Linked DNA regions of Homo sapiens: region 1 is linked to region 2. The links are contacts of gene promoters, found by promoter capture Hi-C in human tissues and cell types (Jung and others, 2019). All regions are on one chromosome and are shown on one strand. Each heading gives the region's core, a stretch centred on a gene start or on the middle of the fragment in contact. The rest is flanking DNA. Distances are from core to core; before and after follow the strand shown. Region 1 holds the start of TMEM200B (transmembrane protein 200B). Region 2 holds the start of OPRD1 (opioid receptor delta 1).

The links. Contacts are between HindIII fragments. The study calls those that stand out against the background at their distance.
Region 1: the fragment with the promoter of TMEM200B here is called in contact with the fragment with the promoter of OPRD1 in region 2 in 1 of the 25 tissues and cell types used here (adrenal gland).

What each region holds. Positions count from the first base shown.
Region 1 is chr1:29,122,577-29,125,396 of GRCh38, forward strand. TMEM200B (transmembrane protein 200B) reads right to left here and starts at 1,327. Exons shown (of 2, transcript NM_001003682.4): 1 at 1,280-1,327. RefSeq lists enhancers at 741-1,600, 1,601-2,460, 2,461-2,820. The HindIII fragment of the contact is 25,455 bases long and covers 1-2,820 here.
Region 2 is chr1:28,810,407-28,813,586 of GRCh38, forward strand. It overlaps OPRD1 (opioid receptor delta 1), which reads left to right and starts at 1,764. Exons shown (of 3, transcript NM_000911.4): 1 at 1,764-2,204. The coding sequence starts at 1,978. The HindIII fragment of the contact is 21,122 bases long and covers 1-3,180 here.

The sequences.
Region 1 (2,820 bases), core at 77-2,576, 310 kb after region 2:
CCTCCCCCAGCGGTCGTGCTGGGGCCACGGCAGCAGGCGGGGGTGCCGGTGCCGGGCGCTGGGCCCCGCCGGACGGATGCCCTCCCGGCTCCCCCGTCGGCCCGGGCAAGGCTGTTCCCAGGTTGCGACGTTTCCAATTCGGGCTCCTCCGGATGAATCATCCCCCTTTCCCGCCGCCTGGCCTCCTTTCCCGCCTCCTCCGCCCGAGGCCTCCGTGGCCCGTGGCCCGGTCAGAGCAGCACCGCCCCTGCGCCTCGGGATCCGGGCCGCACAGCTTAAGCCCTCCCGATTGCTGGCCGCGCCCTGCCTGCGGCCTGTGGCCTGGATCCCGGGCCCAGCAGGAGTAGCCGAGCTGCGTGCGGTGTGGCCCCCACGAAAGGGAGGGCGAGGGAGAAGACGCGGCCCCCGCCCAGGCGCCCCAGGCCGCAGGAGAGGAGGCTCAGGGCCTAGCTGTCCAGGGTCGTCCTCACTGCTCGCGTCCGCTTCCTAAAGAACCACCGCGCTGGAGCCCGCAGCCGAAACCTCGGGGAGGCGGCCTTGCTCCCCGACCCACGCCCCATCTGCACCCCAAACCTCAAAGCAGGACACCCATCCCTGCCTCCGACTGGAGCGCTCAAGGCCCGGGCCTAGCAGGGAGCCGCCACTCTCCCGCGTCCAAAGCCTGGTTTCACAGATTGCAACTACGGCCCAGGGAGGCCGGGGAGACTGCCCGACCCCGCACTAGGCGGGGGCTCTGCCAGGTCCGACGCCGGGCTCCGGGGCCCCAGCCCTAGACCCCTCTCAGGACAGCCACGGGAGTATCCAGGAGGAAGCGAGGCCCATCCCCTCCTTGTCCCTGAGTTTGCAGCCCTTTCCCCAGCCCGCAACCGGAGGAGCGATCATCGCTTCAAGCCAGAACTGGCGCTCTCAGCCCCGGCTCCAGCAAGGTCACCCGGAGCCCCGCGCGTCGCTGCCGCGAGGGAAGCGAAAACAAGCAGAGTGGGGACATGGGGACACGCTCAGAGACCCCGAGCCGTGGAGGTAGTGGGCCGACGCTGGGGACACCAGGGAGGCGGAAACTTGGGGACACAGCGCACAGCCCGACAGAAGATGCTGGGGCCGAGTCCCCAGGACTCCAGGGTCCCGCCACCGCCCGCGTCCACACTCCCGCCTGGGGGAACGGGAGGGCCGCGCTCCCGCCCCCAGGGGCCCTGACCGAGGGAGGGAGGGAGGGAGGGAGGGACCAAACGAAAAGTTGGGAAAAGTGGAGTGCGGACCCCTGGACCCCAGCTCGGCTCACCTGGCGCCGCAGCGCCGCGCGGGTCCGGGTCCCAGTCCGCGCGCGGAGGCTCCAGAGCCGCCCGGGTCTCCACGGCCCGGCCCCAGCCCCGCCCCGGCCCCGCCTCCAGCCCCCGGGACCGTCCGACCCGCGCCGGGCCCGGCCCCACCGCCGCTGAAAGGCGGCAGCTCAGGTCAAAGGATCGCAGGTAGGCGCCCTGTGCGCGCCTGGTGACTCCGGGCACCCGTGGCCCGAGTTCTGCCATCCCCACTCTCCCACCCCCAGCTTACATCGGTCGCAAAGGCCCACAAAGGCGACCCCTTCCTACATGGGGAAACTGAGACCCGGGACCCAGGAGCCCCGACACCCGCACGTCCTTCCCCGCTTCCCAGAGCCCCTCATCCCAGGCGCCCGGGGAGCTTCCAGGAGGAGGCGGCCCGAGTCCCTGCTCTGCCCCGGTCCCGCAGCCCTTGCTGTCGCTGAACCTCGCGGACTTCATCTGTGCAATGGGCACCAAGGCTTCAGCCTCGCAAGATGCCGAGAGGCAAGAGCCAGACGCCAAGGGCCAGCCCGGGGCGACTCCGCAAAGCCCTCAGCGAAAGCAGCGCCCGGGGAGGGGCGGGCCTTGTAGCTGAAAGGACCGGACGGGGTGCGGATGTGCCGCCGGGTACTCCTAAGAACAGGCGCCCCTTCGCCAGTGGGGGAGCGGGCTTGTTCCCAATAACGGGGAGGGTGCTGAGAGCTGCGACCCCGCCGGCGAGCCCGAAGGGGGCGGCCCGGCCTTCGCGCCCTCCCGCCCCTGGAGGCAGGAATGCAGAGCGGGGGAGCCAGGGCGGCCGGCGGTCGGCCCAGTTTCCATGATGCGGGGGGCGGGTTCGGGGGAGGCGGCGACCGATTTCCAGGCTCAGCGGTCAGGCCGGGCCCCCCGGGAGGAATTTCCGGCCTAGGATTGATTAAGGCCCGCCCCTCCCCCCGGCCGTGGAGACCCCCGGCGCGCAGCCGGGGGGAGGGGCGCTAATGAGACCCGGCTGCGCGCCGCGGACAGGGAGGGGACCCGAGGAAGGGGCGGGCCAGGGGCCGGGGCCACCCCCCGACGCGGGGCGGAGCCGGGTCCCGGAGCCGCACGGCCAGGCCAGGCCTTGAACCTGAGCTCCCACCCTCTGGGTCGGCGGAGGAGAGTGGGGGTGCATCAGTGCCCCCCGGGACCCCCTCTTCCAGCTCTTAAAAGCCCCCTCGGGGGGTCGGTGAGGTAACGGGCGGACCAGAGGGACCACAGTGGGGAAGACCGAGCCTCGGCTCCCGGGCTTCATCCCTGCGAGGCCGTGTGCGAGATCGAAGCCAGGGCCTCCTTCTTGCCTCCCCAGTCCGACTGGAGGCTCCTGAGGTCTCGGTCCGCTCCACGGAGGCCTCCCTCCAGCATCTTTGCTTGGGACCCCCGCCCCCATCAATCCTCCGCTTCGTCCACTCCCCGCACACTGACCCCACCGCGGTCGCACCTCCGCCTCCCAGCTCTCCCTCCCACCCCTGGGCTCCCTCAATCCCACTCCATGCCTGCCTCTCCC
Region 2 (3,180 bases), core at 514-3,013:
TGGAAGGAATAGCATGTACAAATGTCCTGAGGTAGGAAAAAACTTGGCTTGGAGGGTTAGGGAGGGGACCAGAATTCCAATAAAGTAGCCCTCCTTCTTCCTATCCCAATTTCTCTCTGCTGGCACTAGAAAAGTTTCTGAGTACCAGGCCCTTTGGGAAAGGGAGAGAGTTTTGGCAGCAGGTGACCACAGCAAAAATCTTTCTGATAAGTCCTTAGGTGGTTGAGTGGGAAAGCCCTGGGGTGGGGGGCTTGCTGTAGTTGGTAGAAGTGGCTGGACAGCAGCTAAGTGGGGTGGAGAAAATGGAGAAGAGGGTGAGCTTGGGAATTCTGGCTTTGCTTTTTTCTGGGAAAGGGTAGGAGCCTTGCACATATATGGATGATTCAAGCTAGAGGGTGAGATGAGGGAGAGCTCCTTGTCCAGCCACACACAGATCCAAGAGCATTGCCCCAGAGCCTAGAGCTCAGAACCCCTAATATTGTTCCACTCCAGTTCCCTTTGGGATCTTTATTATCCAAAAAGTATTTCTTGAGCACCTGCTGTGACCCCAGCCCTCTCCTGGATGCAGGGGTCAATCAGACCTGGTCCCTTTAAGGAGGGAGACCAGTTCGGATAGAAATAATTACTATATGGGATAATTTAGTGCTGAGCACTAAATCTGTAACATGGGGACAATAATAATAGAAGCTACACCAAAGTGTTGGTGCATGGATAAAGTGCTTATCACAGTGCCTGGAGCAAAGTAATGCTTGGTAGAATGTTCTGGAAAGGCTAGGCACCCCAAGAAGAAGGATGGCTCTAATCTGGAATGGTTAGGTCTTGGAAGGGGTGTGGCAAGGATGACTTAGCCAAGTGCCCCCCTTCTATCTGCTCGCACTGCAGCCAGAGTGCTCCTTAAGGTGGTCTTCAAGAGCCTGCCCACCACCTCATCGCCCCCTCACTTCCTGCCTTCTCCTCTTCCTGGCTTCCTTTCAGTCCCTCTGCTTCCTTTATCCGGAATCCTCTTCCCTTGTTACTTCCTTAAGTTAGTTCTTCCCCAAACTTCACACCTCACCTCAAGTGTCGTTTCCCCAGGGAAGCTGTCCTGACCCCTGGGTTTTGTAGACCCTGCCACTTTCTCAATTCGTACCTATATCTTAATGTCATTTTAGGGTTGCTCGCTCTCTCTCCTGCACTGGGCTGTAAGCCCCAGGAAGCAGAGGCTGCATCTGGTTTTGTGTACTAGAGGGTCCCCCCAAATACCCGGCTCTTCTATTAGGCACCCTCAGAATTTTTGTTGAGCGAATGAATGGGGTGCAAGAAAGGCACGGATAATATAGGTTATTTACGGAGCATGTAACTGTCCGCAGGGCACTGCTCTAAGCTCTTTGTTCGAATCATTTTATTCAATCTCCCCAACCACCCTCTGAGGGAGGTGGTACGATTTTCCTCATCTCACAGACAAAGAGAATGAAGCTGAGGGAGGTTAAGTGACTTACACAAGGTCACTCCGCCTGTTAGTGCAGGGGCGGGAGGCGGGATCCACACCCAGGTCCCTCTGACACCAAAGTGGCAAGGGGGTGGGAGGGGAGTCCAGGTTGGGACGGGGTCGCACTCGAGCCGGCGGAGCATCCCTAGGGAGGGGGCGGGAGGCCTCCCCTGCCCAGCTCCGAGCCGGTGGTGCAGCGTCCGCCCCCGGTCGCGGGCGCAGACTGGCGGCCGCCTCCGGGCCACGTGGTGCGCGCGGCGGGCGCGTCCGAGGAGCCTGCGGCTGCTCCTGGCTCACAGCGCTCCGGGCGAGGAGAGCGGGCGGACGCCGGGGGCTGGGCCGGTGCGGGCGGCGAGGCAGGCGGACGAGGCGCAGAGACAGCGGGGCGGCCGGGGCGCGGCAGCCGGCGGCGTCGGGGCCGCGGCCTCTGCCTTGCCGCTCCCCTCGCGTCGGATCCCCGCGCCCAGGGCGCACGGTGGAGAGGGACGCGGCGGAGCCGGCCGGCAGCCATGGAACCGGCCCCCTCCGCCGGCGCCGAGCTGCAGCCCCCGCTCTTCGCCAACGCCTCGGACGCCTACCCTAGCGCCTGCCCCAGCGCTGGCGCCAATGCGTCGGGGCCGCCAGGCGCGCGGAGCGCCTCGTCCCTCGCCCTGGCAATCGCCATCACCGCGCTCTACTCGGCCGTGTGCGCCGTGGGGCTGCTGGGCAACGTGCTTGTCATGTTCGGCATCGTCCGGTGAGTCCGCTGCGGGCCGGCGCCGCAGGGCTGGAGCCCGGGGTGAGGGTGGGGATCACGAACTTGAGACCCCAAGCCCGTTCCCTGGACTCCCCGCGCCTCCGCATTTCCTGCAGGGGCACCTGGGGCCCAGCGAGAGGCGAGGCCACTTACATCGAGGGGAACACAGGAATGTGTGTCATCGTGTGTATGTGTGTGTGTGGTGCGGGGGGGGGAGTGCGCCGCGGTTGACTAAATTACATTTGATCATCTGTTGGCATCCCCTTGCTTCTTTGTGGGACAGTTTGGCGTCAGTTTGTGTGTCTGTCACAGTTTGTGAGTGGATGGTTGTGACAGTACAACTGTATGTTTGGACGTCGGAAACATGCCCATGGGGTGGGCAGAGCTGCTCTGAGGTGCCGCGGGCCTTTGGGGAGACCGGTGTGAGGGCACCGTGCAGGCAGGGCGGACAGGAGGGTGCTGGGTGTCAGCACCTCGCCGTGGGGCCCTTACCAAGTCATATTTGGTGCTCATCTGTTGGTGTGAGCTTGTCCCTAACGGTCAGTTTGTGATTCTGTCTGAATGTAACAATGTGACTGTTGTTTCTTGTCAAGCTCTTGAAACCCCGAGGGCGGCAGAGCATCCGGAGTGGCCGTCGTCCCTGTGTTTGTGCAGCTGTGTGTGCCTTTGCCAGTGATTCCTGGATAACATGGGCGACAGCTGTGGGCCGCCAACCGGTTCTCTGTTCCCTTCGCCAGTGCCCATCTGGTCAGGAATTCTGAATAGGATTCAGAGAAGACTCACGCCCTCCTCACAAATGCCCTCTCCCATTTTCTCTTTGCCTCCTCTAACAGTCTTTTCTTCTGCCAGAGGCAGCAGAGGTTGGTCTGGGCGGGAGTGGATTTTGAGTTTTCATCCCAGGAAGTGAGGTGCTCTTCTTGGAGTTTATGGAGAGTGCTGGGACCTTCTCAGAGAGCCTAAGACGTCAGCTTGCCCC